Regions from separate parts of the Homo sapiens genome. Here all the other regions are linked to region 3. Evidence: promoter capture Hi-C in 16 types of primary human blood cells and fetal thymus (Javierre and others, 2016). All regions are on one chromosome and are shown on one strand. The core of a region is centred on a gene start or on the middle of the fragment in contact, and the rest is flanking DNA. Distances in the headings are between cores, read along the strand shown. Region 1 has its middle 58 kb from the start of ARAP3. Region 2 holds the start of LOC124901092 (a long non-coding RNA gene). Region 3 holds the start of RNF14 (ring finger protein 14).

Region 1 (4,083 bases), core at 1,422-3,921, 230 kb after region 3:
CAACCCAAGGCTCCCTGTTCTCCTGAGCCCCCACCATCAATCTGCCCCAAAGGAACTCCATGGCTCTGACATCGGCACTGCCCCTGCCCCCACCCCAGACTTGAGTGGGTCTCTGGATCCCTACCTGTCCTTAGAGAGAAGGGAAAGAAGGAAGGAAAGACAGAGAGAGAGAGAGAGAGCATATGTGTTTTGGTGCCTTCTCTTAGATGTTTATTTTGTTGTTTTTAAGTGAGAAAGTCCCAGCTCTATTAAATGCAATCAATACTTGGCCCAAGAGAAGCTTCCCTTCTCTGAGACATTTGAAACCTGGTCAAATCATTTTGCCCCAATACAAAGTAATTTATCAATTTCAAAACCTTTCTAATCAGTGGAGGCTGTGGAGTCCCCATTCCTGCCTGCCATCTTCTGCTGCAGGACAGGCACACACACATGCAAATACACACATACACCCAGAGTTGTGCATAAACTCCTTTATTCTCTCTGCAAACCACCCTCCCTCCCTCCCACCTCCCAGAGACTGCAGAATGTCTTCCCCTCAGTTCAGCCTCCAGGCTAGGTGCCATCCTCAGCATCTTCAGCTCAGCCTGTGTGCTCCTAGCCCAGAGAGGCTGCAGGCCCTGCGGGCCCTGCAGGCCTATAGCACTCAGCCCTGGAGAGATGGAGGTAGACACGAGTCCAGCCACAGTGCACTAGTGAGTGTGCTCCTCTTCACCTGGTGTGTAAACAGTGGGGTGGAGCTGGGGACTCTGGTTCATAGGCAGGGTCCAGAACTGGGGCCAGGGGGCTGGAAGGAGCCCCAGGGCCACCAAAGTTGTCCCTTAGGACCTTGGCATAAATCTCCGAGGGGCAAACAAGATCTACTGGCTGGAGTGAGGTTTGCTGGCTGAACCTGGGGATGATGTCACAAAACTCTCCTGCCTCTAAAGCTGCTATTTTTGCCCTCGAGGACAGGCCGTGTCTAAAGGGAGACTGTGACAGCAGCAAAATCACCTTGCAACTCACCCTCCCACTCCCAGGAAGAGTGGCTTGAGCCTTTACCACTCCATTAGATTGGATTCTCGGCAGGATTCTCGGCAGGTCTTTTGTGGCCGCCAGCTGTGGTGGCCAGATAGGCCACTGACCTTTGAGGAGGGGCCACCCACTGAATGGCTAATTTAAATGCTCTCCTTACAATGGACTGTGCACATTTGGCCCTCAGAGAGTGACTGAGGGAAGTGACTCAGCAAGCCAGAGTCCTGGTTCACAAGCGAACTCAGGAGCATAGATGACATGTGAACTTTCCGAAACCTCTACCCATGGAACAGTCAATCCAAAGGCCTTACCTTGGCGTTCAAGGCCCCTCCATCTGGCCTAACCTAATATCTCCAGGAGACCTTTCATGCCTAGTGTTTGGAAGGCACTCTGTAAATATGTGTGCAATCAATGAATGGGTGGAAATCTCTGTGTAGCTCTGCCCCCCATTTCATGCCTTCCTTTCTCAAGTCTATCATAGCTCCTCTAGGGCTAGGAGCAAGGACTTTGCATATCTTTGGAGCCCTCATAGCTCTTTGCCCAGGGCTCTGCACAAAGTAATATTAAACTAGAGCGAGCACAGTGCCCTGTGGTTTACAAGGTATTTTAATATTAACTGTCTAATTTAATTCTACAATAATGCTGGGGATAGATATTACCCTGTTTTATACTGAGAGGACCCAAGGTTCAGAGAGGTGAAGTCACTTGTCCTCCATTACACAGAAAGTAAACAATAAACCTGGGATGCCAATGCAAATTCTCTGAATCCAGATCCTAAAATCTTTCTACCTCATTCATTTGTTCATTTATTACATAAATAGTGAGCTTCCCCTCCATGCCAAATGTTAAGGTTTCTTCATGGCAATCTGAAACTAGGTGACATTGTATCCTGTCTGTAGATTGGAAAATAGAGGTGAAGTGATTTGCCCAAGATGGCACAGTAAATAAATAGGGGATGGAAGTAGATTGAACCCAGATCTTTTTATTTCTTTTTCTTTTCTTTTATTTTTGAGAAGGAGTCTCGCTCTGTTGCCCAGGCTGGAGTGCAGTGGCGTGATCTCCGCTCACTGCAAGCTCCACCTCCCAGGTTCATGCCATACTCCTGCCTCAGCCTCCCCAGTAGCCGGGACTACAGGCGCCTGCCACCACGCCCGGCTAATTTTTTTGCATTTTTAGTAGAGACAGGGTTTCACCATGTTAGCCAGGATGGTCTCGATTTCCTGACCTCATGATCCGCCCGCCTCGGCCTCCCAAAGTGGTGGGATTACAGGTGTGAGCCACCATGCCCGGCCAAACCCAGATCTTTTATTTCAAATCCAGAGTCTCCTCTTACACCTCACAATTTTTTTTTTTTTTTTGAGACAGAGTTTCGTTCCTGTTGCCCAGGCTGGAGTGCAATGGTGCGATCTCAGCTCACTGCTACCTCCTTCTCCTGGGTTCAAGTGATTCTCCTGCCTCAGCCTCCCAAGTAGCTGGGATTATGGGCATGCACTACCACACCCGGCTAATTTGTATTTTTAGTACAGACAGGGTTTCACTATGTTGGTCAGGCTGGTCTCAAACTCCTGACCTCAGGTGATCCGCCCACCTCAGCCTCCCAAAGTGCTGGGATTACAGGTGTGAGCCACTGCACCCAGCCTCACAAAATGTTTTGTTGTAACATTCATGAAGAACCAATTATATGCCAAGCACTATCCCATTTAATCTTCACAACATCTGACATGGGTTCTATTATCACTTCCTTCTTAGAGATGGAGAAATCAAAACTTTGAACAAAGTCCAGTGCCTGAGCATGGTAGCTCACGCCTGAAATCCCAACAATTTGGGAGACCGAAGAGGGTGGATTGCTTGAGTCCAAGAGTTCAAAACCAGCCTGGGCAACATGGCAAGACCCCATCTCTACAAAAAACAAACAAACAAAAACAAAACAAAACAAAAAACACAAAAAATTAGCTGGGTATGGTGACATGTGCCTGTGGTCCTACCTATTCAGGAGGCTGAGCTGGGAAGATCACCTGAGCTAGAGAAGTCGAGGCTGCAGTGACCTGTGATTGTGCTGCTTACCACTCCACCCTGAGTGACAGAGTGAGACACTGTCTAAAAAAAAAAAAAAAGAAAAAAAAGAAAAGTCCAATATTTAGTAGCCAAGCTGAGAGTTGAACTGTGTTTCTCTGACTCCAGAATCTGAGCTCTATGCTATACCAGCTTACTGATGATAATAATAAACACTCATTACACATCCAAATAATCAATGCTTATTGATTGAATGACTGGTCACTGTAGATATTATGTTCATGGCACAACTAGGGAAAAAAGGTGTAAATTCTGGGCTTGCAAGCCAGCATCTGCCCCTTGGTCTGCATTATGTCTCACAAGCCCTCTGTACCTAATAATAACTGCCCCTACGTCAGCCGGGCTCGGTGGTTCATGCCTGTAATCCCTTGGCACTTTGGGAGGCCGAGGCGGGCAGATCACAAGGTCAAGAGATCGAGACCATCCTGGCCAACATGGTGAAACCCCGTCTCTACTAAAAATACAAAAATTTAGCTGGGCATGGTGGTGCACACTTGTAGTCCCAGCTACTCAGGAGGCTGAGGCAGTAGAATCGCTTGAACTAGGAGGTGGAGGTTGCAGTGAGCCGAGATCATACCACTGCACTCCAGCCTGGTGACACAGTGAGACTCCATCTCAAAACAAAACAAAACAACAACAACAACAAAACCTGCCCCTACTTCTTGAGCAGTCACTGCATGTCAAGTCCTGTGTTAGGCCCCTTACATGCGCTCACATAACCCGATGTAATCCTCATATATGACATAGGTATTATCTTCCCTATTTGAAGGATATAGAAACCAAAGCTCAGAGAGATTCAGTCACTTGTCCCCAGCCACACAGCGTATCAAAGAGATACTATTGTAAAGATGTTACCTCTTTCCTTGATCCTGCAAACCATCTTGGCACAGCTGCTCCAGTCCCAGAACCCCACCATGATTGCCAGTGGGGATTATGAACATCATTTCCCTGGGAGTTTGGGAAGAGAGTAAAATTGTGGCACCAAGGGGCACTGCAGCT
Region 2 (4,471 bases), core at 123-2,622, 250 kb after region 3:
TAGAAGGGACTTGCCTTGTCTCAGATGAGACTTTGGACTTTGGACTTTTGAGTTAATGGTGGAATGAGTTAAAACTTTGGGGAAGGCATGATTGTATTTAGAAACATGAGAAAGATATGAGATTTGGGAAGGGCCAGGGGTGGAATTATGTGGTTTGGTGATGTGTCCCCACCCAAATTTCATGTTGAATTGCAATCCCCAGTGTTGGAGGTGGGACGTGGTGGGAGGTGATTGGAGCATAGGGGTGGATTTCTCATGAATAGTTTTGCACCATTCCCTTGGTACTCTTCTCATGATAGTGAGTGAGTTCTCATGAGATCTGTTGCTTAAAAGGGTGTGGCACCTCCAACCCCAACTGTTGCTCCTGCTCTGGCCATGTGAAGTGCCTATTCCTCCTTCACCTTCTGCCATGATTGTAAGTTTCCTGAGGCCTTCCCAGAGGCTGAGCAGATGCCAGCATCATGCTTCCTGTAAGGTCTGCAGAACCATGAGCCAATTATACTCTTTTCTTTATAAATTACCCAGTCTCAGGTATTTCTTTATGGCAATGAGATAATGGCCTTATACACCCTATCTCTTAAAAAAAAAGCACACACACAAGAAATGAAAAAGGAGGCCCTAGAGAGCTGCTTTGCCACTTCCACCATGTGAGGACTAGTGACAAGGCACCATTCTATGAACCACAAAGTAAACGCTTACCAGCCACTGAGTCTGTTGGTGCCTTGATCTTGGACTTCCCAGCCTCCAGAATTGCGAGGAATAAGTTTCTGTTGTTTATAAGCCACCCAGCTTATGGCATTTTGTTATAGCCGCCCGAACAGACTAAAACACTAGTCTACTTCCTGAATTACTCCCAGGCCTCAACATGAACCCCACCCACTACAGCAAGTAGACAGAGGGCTCTGAAGACACGTGAATTATGCTGTCTACTCTGTCCACCACGGCTACCAAACAGGTAGCCACAGGTGACCCATCTCCATAGCCACAGCTGATTGGGCCATTATCTGTCACCTGGTAGATAAGTAGTGGCCTGGTGAAAGGAAATAGATGAATTGGGCCAATCTAATGTCTTTCTAGGGAATCTAAGCAGGCAAGCATAAGAAGAATGAGGAGTTGACAGGGTGTGATGGACATGTGTTGTTTTTGCCTGCCTAGCACTCATTTCACATGTTTTTCTGGTGATAGCACCCCAATATTCCTTGGGGTACAGTCCTAGAGTTTAGATGAGCTAGTCTCACCTAAGAGTTTAAGTGAGGTAGTCTCACCCCAGATTCTGCAATAAGACCCTAATTCCCAGGCCTGACCCAGTCAGTAGATTTTATCCTCTCACCACAATGATGGGCTCAGGATGGGGAAGTGAATTAATTAAGATATTGATCAAGCTACTGTAACAAAGAGGCCCAAATAACAGGGCTAAAGCAAGATTAAAATTTAATTCTTTCTCATATAAAAGCTCAAGTAGATATAGTAGTTCTGCTCCACAAAAGTTCTCAGAATCCCAAGCTCCTTCTATTTTGTTGCTCTGCCCCCTCTGGGGGGTGACACTTACCACCACCATGACCACATTTCAGCCAGCCAGAAGGCAATAAAAAGGAAGGGGAAGCACAACAATTTCTTTTAGGGGAACAGCCCAAAAGTTACACACATCATTTTTGCTCATGTATGATTAGCCAGAATTTAGTCCTAAAGCACAACTAATTGCAAGAAAGGCCATCTTGCCAACTAAAATATTCTACCACATTGGAAGAAAAGGGGAACAGCTGTTGTCAGGCAACCAGGAGCCTCTGCCATAGCAACCATCCCATCAACAAGATGGGAAAGTCTGCCCAGAGATGTAGTTAACACAGTGGAAAGAATAGATGAGAGATGGCAAGAATATTATCAAGGCCCAGAGACCTAGCCATGCTGAAGTCCAGCTCTACCTTTGATTTTTCATATATGAGCCAAAAATTTTCTTCTTTTCCCTTTTGCTTCAACTACTTTGAATTGGGTTTCTAGCAATTGACACTAAAGAATTCTGGCTAATTAATGGCAAAATCAGAAGGTAAAATGTCATAAGGGAGAAAGAGGGCAAAAGGACCATAAGGGGAAGCCAGAGTCATGAGGAAACAGGAATCTCAAGATGGAAAAGCAGGCCAGGTGTGGCAGTTCATGCCTGTAATCCCAGCACTTTGGGAGGCCAGGGCAGGCAGATCACTTGAGGCCAGGAGTTCGACACCAGACTGGCCAACATGGCAAAACCCCATCTCTACCAAAAATACAAAAAATTAGCCGGGTGCGGTAGCTCACACCTGTAATCCCAGCTACTTGGGAAACTGAGGCAGGAGAATCACTTGAACATGGAAGGCAGACGTTGCAGTGAGCCGAGATCACGCCATTGCACTCCAGCCTAGGTGACAGAGTAAGTCTCTAGTCTCCAAAAAAAAAAGAAAGAAATTAGTTGGGTGTGATGGCACATTCCTGTAGTCCCAGCTACTCAGGAGGGTGAGGAGGGAGGAGAATTTGAGCACAGGAGGCAGAGATTGCAGTGAGCTAAGATCACACCACTGCACCCCAGCCTGGACAACAGAGTAAGACTTCACCTCAGAAAAAAAAAAAAAAAAAAAAAAAGAGGGACACAAAAGCAAAAGCCACAATACATAGAAAATGGGTGGTGAGAGGAGAAGAGGCAGACACAGAGAGAAGCTAAATTACTTGAGCTACCACCTCTTCCTCCAAAGGTCCTTCCTCTAAGCCACTCCGAGGTTCAAATAACCTAGTTCAGTTACAATGTGTATGGAAAGTTGTGTTATTGGTCAAAATATTTGCTGTTCCTCCCTTGGGTGCCCTTTCTGAAAGTGGAACATACTTCCCATTGATGAGAGGCCTGCCATGCGATTTGCTTTGGCCAATAAAATATGAGGGAAAGCTTTAAGAATCAGTGTGCTCCTCTATTGGCCTGGGCTCCAGAGTGAAGAAAGCAGGGGAGCAGAGCTGCAGCTGACCCATGACAGATATGTAATATAGGGGAGAAATAAACATTTGTCATAGGCCTCAGGGATTTGGGGACTGTTTGTTACTGCAACATAATGTAACCCACACTGACTGATACACAGCCTATATTTACAGCAGTTCCTGCTCATCTTGTAGCCTGATTATTCATCTTTTCCTGGATTTTCAGGCACATATTTCCTTACAGTCTTCCCTCACCTATTCCTTTTTTTTTTTTTTTTTTGAGATGGAGTCTCGCTCTGTCACCCAGGCTGGAGTGCAGTGGCGCAATGTCTGCTCACTGCAAGCTCTGCCGTCTGGGTTCACGCCATTCTCCTGCCTCAGCCTCCCGAGTAGCTGGGACTACAGGCGCCTGCCACCACACCCAGCTAATTTTTTTGTATTTTTAGTAGAGACGGGCTTTCACCGTGTTCTCCAGGATGGTCTCGATCTCCTGACCTTGTGATCCACCCACCTCGGCCTCCCAAAGTGCTGGGATTACAGGCCTGAGCCACTGCGCCCGGCCTTCCCTCACCTATTCTTATAACCAACAAGAAATAAGCCTTAAACAGTCTTCCTGATATGTAATATTATTCTGGAGAGCGCTATCCCTTAAGCCAGGAATTACAGGACTGATGTTTCATGATCAAGTATCCCTTTTTACCAAGTCCCTTTCCAACTCCTAATCTCCAAAACTTCCTGTAGCCTCAAGAGAATGTGGAATAAATAGATCTGATTATTATAAAACTGCACAATTGCATGATTTAAAGTAATTTTATTTTACTGAATTTCATGTTTATAAATTTTAAAGAATTTCTTTAAAACAAAATCAGAAATGGTTCATTTTACAGATGCTGACTTCTCAAACTTAAGAGAGTCATAGATTTGAGTACATACTGCACTAGTGATGATAATGATGATACAGACATAAATTTATGCAGAACTTTCATATTTCCAAAACATATCACACATTTGCTTGCTTTAAATTCACAACAGCCTGCAAATATTATTCCCATTTTACATATATGGAGACTGGGGATGAGAAAGTTAAAGGAACTCTTTACAAATTATGGAGGTGGTACTGTATCTCCCAGCACCTTGTTCTTCTGCTGCTTTTCCTCCACCTGCTACATCTGTCATAGCAGGCACTTATAGGAAAGGGGGGCACCTACCTCCATGACAGAAGCTGGGGAGGGGTAGTCAGAGACATCCCTGAGTTGAATAAATAAGTGAATACATGAATATATGACTAACTGAATGGATGCATGAATGGATGGGTGGACGATAGATAAATTGATGAGTGGATTGATGGGCAGATTAATGGATCTATGGGTGGGTGGATGATGAATGGGTGAATCTCTTTTGTTTGGATGAATGGGTAGATGGATGGATGGGATTCCTGTGGTCTCAGAGAAAAGGCAGTGGTGTTCTCTCAGTGTCTAGAAAGTGTGTACAGACACTTATAATACTCTACCAGCCAGAATTCCTTATGCTTAGCCAT
Region 3 (4,505 bases), core at 889-3,388:
TCAATGTTTTTTAAAATAGCATCAACTGAAAGATACAGCAATTTCAGATAATTTAAATGTGAAAAAAATATGCAATGAGAATTTACAAAAATCATTTTAATAAAACAAAACTACCAGTCAATTAAAATATTGAACTACAATTGCATTTGCAAATATCCTCCCTCACAACTAAAATATTTTTAATTAAAATGTACATAAGTAAAAAGTTAGGATTTTTTACATTTTAAAAGGTCATACTATGAAATTAAAAATGATTTCATTTTCAAAAAACACTTTTTTTCTAGGAGATGTTAGTTCATGGCTCTGCTTAAGCTGCATCCCTATCTAAGACACAATTACATGTTCTACTTGAGGTCAGTTAGTACCTGTTAATAACAATCAGAAGAAAAGGATATTAACACCGCAGTCTGTATTTCAGCTCAGAGTGGAGTTCATGCAAATCCCATTTATTCTCTAACTGGTGGAGCTGAGACTGCTGAAGCTGGGTAAGAGGCCAAGATGTGGAACTCATACTACATATATTATGAAAATCCTGCCATCTGCAGAAAAGAAATACAAAAGATGGTGTTAGGACCCTCTCCAAATTAAAATTCTGAATTTCCATGATCACTGCTTAAGTCAAACATATCCTAACATATAGCCAATCCTAATCTACAAGTGCATGTTACTCTCCTAGGGCAGGCTAACTGAGCCATGTGGTTAAAGGAGTATTTGCATGTCCCCAGCAATGACTGAGGACTTTTTATCTGTCTGCCCTCAGCTATGGGAGGAGCTAAGGAGGAACACCAAGGTCATATGAAAGTACAGGACACCATGCCCCATAACAAACAATCTCTTCAGTTTGTTTTTTGTTTTGTTTTTTTCTCCTTTCCTCTTCTGCTTCTTGTATTCCTTCATTTGCCACTCCCCTCCAGTTTTTCCTCTCTTGTTCATGAATTAAGCCTGCCAGTGGCACTCAAGGTTAATTTTGGTAACAGAAAAATACTTAAACAAAACAAGAGTACACAAACACAAACTTTTAAGTTTTATTCTAAATGCTTTAGAGCTAGGCTTCTTCACTGGGGTGAGGGGAAAAGGGAGTGTGGTCTATAGATGGGCTACGGAGAATCCTATCAACACCCTAAAATTATATGCAAAAATACTATATACAAAACCATAATTAAAAACCAGATTCTCGGATGTGTAACTCCCAAATGAGATAAGAATGAGATTCAGAATCAATTTACATTAATTGAGCACCTACTATGTACTGTATTAGGTCCTTTCACATTGTCTTATTTTACTAGGTGGGAGTATATGGTGCTAATTGAATTAAGCTTTTTGTTTCTTCCTGTTAAAACATTTGCAAATGGGATGAGAGATTCATTCATGCAGTTTATGGTTTTAGGTTAGTGTTCTCCATCTGACTGCACATTAGAATCTTCTGAGGAGCTGTTTTTTAAAATCTCAATACCCAGGCCACACCCTAGAACAATTAATTCAGGCCTCAGTAGTTTTCCAAGTTCTCCAGGTGATTCCAATATGCAGCCAGGGCTAAGAACTTCTACTCCAAGCAGTTTCAACAGTTCCTCATGACCTACCCTACAAGATTTCAGCTTGTGAAGCTGTCACTTGGAATCCAGTACCTCAATTCAGGTTGCTAACCCCCATTTCCTTCTCACTCTATCCATTTGGTCTTCGGGTGTCCTAGTCTGGGTTCAGCTCGCCACTAGGCGTGCGGCGTCGTTTGGGCGACTGCCCCAAAACAGGGGCAGGCCCAACGCTAGCTATCCGCCCCAACGCTGGGATCAGAGGGCGCAATGCGGATGTGTGAGCTGCTGGCCAGCCTGGGGCGTCCCGAAGGAGCAGGGCCCACACCTTCCCCTTCCTCCTCAGCGTCCCGAAGGGAGTCCCGGCCAGCCGAGCTGCGGACGCCCGGTCCCGGATTTGAGGGACTGAGGCCCAGTGTACAGTCCCAGCCCGGTCCCCTTCTCTGCCTCGCGCGCCCAGAGAGCTATCCCCACCGTACCTTCCGGCCGCCCGGCAGTGCCGAACCCCAAAGTTCCGCCCTCCGCCCTTGCCTGGGGCCCACTCACCGCCGCCAGCCGACCAGGCCTAGAGACGCCCTGCTCAACCGGCGCGCCGCCTCTTCCGTTCTCGGGAGCTGTCAGCTGAGCCAGGCGGATCCCGCTGGCGCGACCGCCGGCATAGGGAGGACTCTGCGCAGCCGCCGTGGTCGCCCCTGCCTCTCGGGCGCCTCCCGCAGGCCCAAGGCGGCGCTGCCGGCGCGACCACCGTCACCCCCACTTACTGCGAGCCCTGTGCTCACAGGAGGCTCTTTTCAGTAGTTCTGATGGGGCCCGAGAATTCGAATTTTTACCAATCTCTAGAGGGGATCATGAGGCAGTGGTCTACCTAGGGCAGAGACTCTCACAACAATCCCAGACCTGCTTCTCCAAGTGGACTAAGCAAGCCTACTTCCTCCCGTTTACCTTCTCAGAAATGCTGCCGGTCTTTCTGGCACTCCACTGTGGAAGCACGCATTCATCGCTCATGTTATAACTGTAACACCGACCGCATTTATCGAGTAGTTAGGATGCTTCAAGCAGTGTGATAAATGCTCTACGTAAATTTTCTATCTTCACTGTAATCTTATGATTTAGCTACCATTTGTTATTCTCACTTTACAAATAAGGAAATTGAGACTTAGGTGCAAGAACTTACCAAGGGTCACATGATTATCGTCAGGCTAAGCAGGAATTAAAATTATACACTTCCTTCCTCACACCATATGCAAAAATTAACTAAATATGGATCAACGACCTAAATGTAAGAACTAAAACTATAAAACCCTTAGAAGGCCGGGTGCGGTGGCTCACGCCTGTAATCCTAGCACTTTGGGAAGCCGAGGCGGGTGGATCACGAGGTCAGGAGATCGAGACCAGCCTGACCAACATGGTGAAACCCCGTCTCTACTAAAAATACAAAAAATAAGCCGGGCATGGTGGCGGGCACCTGTAGTCCCAGCTACTAGGGAGGCTGAGGCAGGAGAATCATTTGAACCCAGGAGACAGAGGTTACAGTGAGTCACTGCACTCCAGCCTAGGTAACAGCGAGACTCCGTCTCAAAAAAAAAAAAAAAAAAGTCAAACACAAAAAGCCATATATTGTTTTTAATTTATATGAAATGTCCAGAATAGGCAAATCCATAGAGACAAAAAGTAGTTTAGTGGTTGCCAGAAACTAAGGCAGGAGGGAATGGGAAGTGACTGCTAATAGATACCGCTAATAGATATGGTGTTTCTTGGGTGATGAAAATATTGTGGAATTAGAGAGCAGTGATAGTTGTATAACTTTGTGAGTGTACTAGAAACCACTGGATTGTATACTTTTGAAGAGTTAATTTTATTGCATGTGAATTATGTCTTAATTAAAAAATTTTTTTAGGTACAAAGCACCGTTCTCAGCGCTTAAGTGGAATACAGAAATGTTGGCTCCTTCTCCTGGGACCCATCAAACTAATGTGCTCCTCACAATCTAATAAGCTCCTGTGTCCGCTTTTTCATATATTTCTTCCTCCAAAAGAGTAACTTGCAGAGCTAAGACTCTAACCCAAGCCTACAGGATTCTAAAGCTTTTACCACCATTGCCTCCCGGGCAGGATTAGATTCATGGGCCAGCAACCCGTGCAGTCACATAGGGCCCTGCACTTAGAAGGGCCCCAGATTTAGAAGTGGCCTGCTCTTAAGAATGATACAATGGACTTTGGGGACTTAGGGGGAAGGATGAGAGGGGGACGAAGGATAAAAGACTACAAATAGGGTGCAGTGTATACTACTCGAGTGATGAGTGCACCAAAATCTCACAAATCACCATTAAAGAACTTACTCATGTAATCAAATACCACCTGTACCCCAATAACTTATGGAAAAATTAAAATAAAAAAGAAGTGCCCTGCTCTTGATTTGATGCTGTGCTCTCACCCTCTTGAAGTTCTTAATAATTTCTGAATGAGAGGCTGCATTTTTATTTTGCCCTGGGCTTTGTAAATTATGTAGTTGGTCTTATACCCAGGAGAGAGAAAAAAACCAAGTGAGTAAATCAGGGCACCCAAGGGATTACCTGGCTGCCACAGAAAGAACCTTGAAATAGAAATAATCACTTCTAATTTTCTGTACTATAAATCTTGATTGTCACAAAACAGAAACCAAAATACCCTTCTAATAGATACCAAAACCAGAAACATATCTCGGAAAAATGCAAAGGACGGAAGAAGAATCTCCAAAGCCATTCATTAATATAATTATTCATGTTTAGCCAAAGGAATTAGACCAAGAGCAAAACACACAGCAACCCTACCTCAGAGTGCTCAGAGAGGGGAGACCAGAGACCTCTTCGTGAGGAAAAAAGTGAGGAAGCCCATGCACCAACCAGCTTGGGAAATCCTCACAAAGTCAGAGCAGAAGGTGAATTGTGACATCATGTCAGAGGTCACAGGATAGAGAGAATAGAAAGAGAATTTCAAA

The links. Contacts are between HindIII fragments. The CHiCAGO score rates a contact against its expected background, and 5 or more counts as called.
Region 1: a contact is called between a fragment that was not itself captured here and the fragment with the promoter of RNF14 in region 3, in 1 of 17 cell types (endothelial precursors). The highest score is 5.6, in endothelial precursors.
Region 2: a contact is called between a fragment that was not itself captured here and the fragment with the promoter of RNF14 in region 3, in 1 of 17 cell types (endothelial precursors). The highest score is 5.4, in endothelial precursors.

The regions. Positions count from the first base shown.
Region 1 is chr5:141,738,165-141,742,247 of GRCh38, reverse strand. No RefSeq gene overlaps it. Among named protein-coding and RNA genes, the nearest start is that of ARAP3, 58 kb to the right of the region's middle. The HindIII fragment of the contact is 4,778 bases long and covers 283-4,083 here.
Region 2 is chr5:141,719,766-141,724,236 of GRCh38, reverse strand. LOC124901092 (a long non-coding RNA gene) reads left to right here and starts at 3,429. Exons shown (of 2, transcript XR_007058973.1): 1 at 3,429-4,471. The HindIII fragment of the contact is 3,076 bases long and covers 1-2,910 here.
Region 3 is chr5:141,966,738-141,971,242 of GRCh38, reverse strand. It overlaps RNF14 (ring finger protein 14), which reads right to left and starts at 2,138. Exons shown (of 9, transcript NM_004290.5): 1 at 2,076-2,138; 2 at 366-539. LOC124901095 (a long non-coding RNA gene) reads left to right here and starts at 1,463. Exons shown (of 3, transcript XR_007058977.1): 1 at 1,463-1,635. RefSeq lists an enhancer at 1,956-2,105 and a silencer at 2,216-2,355. The HindIII fragment of the contact is 2,297 bases long and covers 1,319-3,615 here.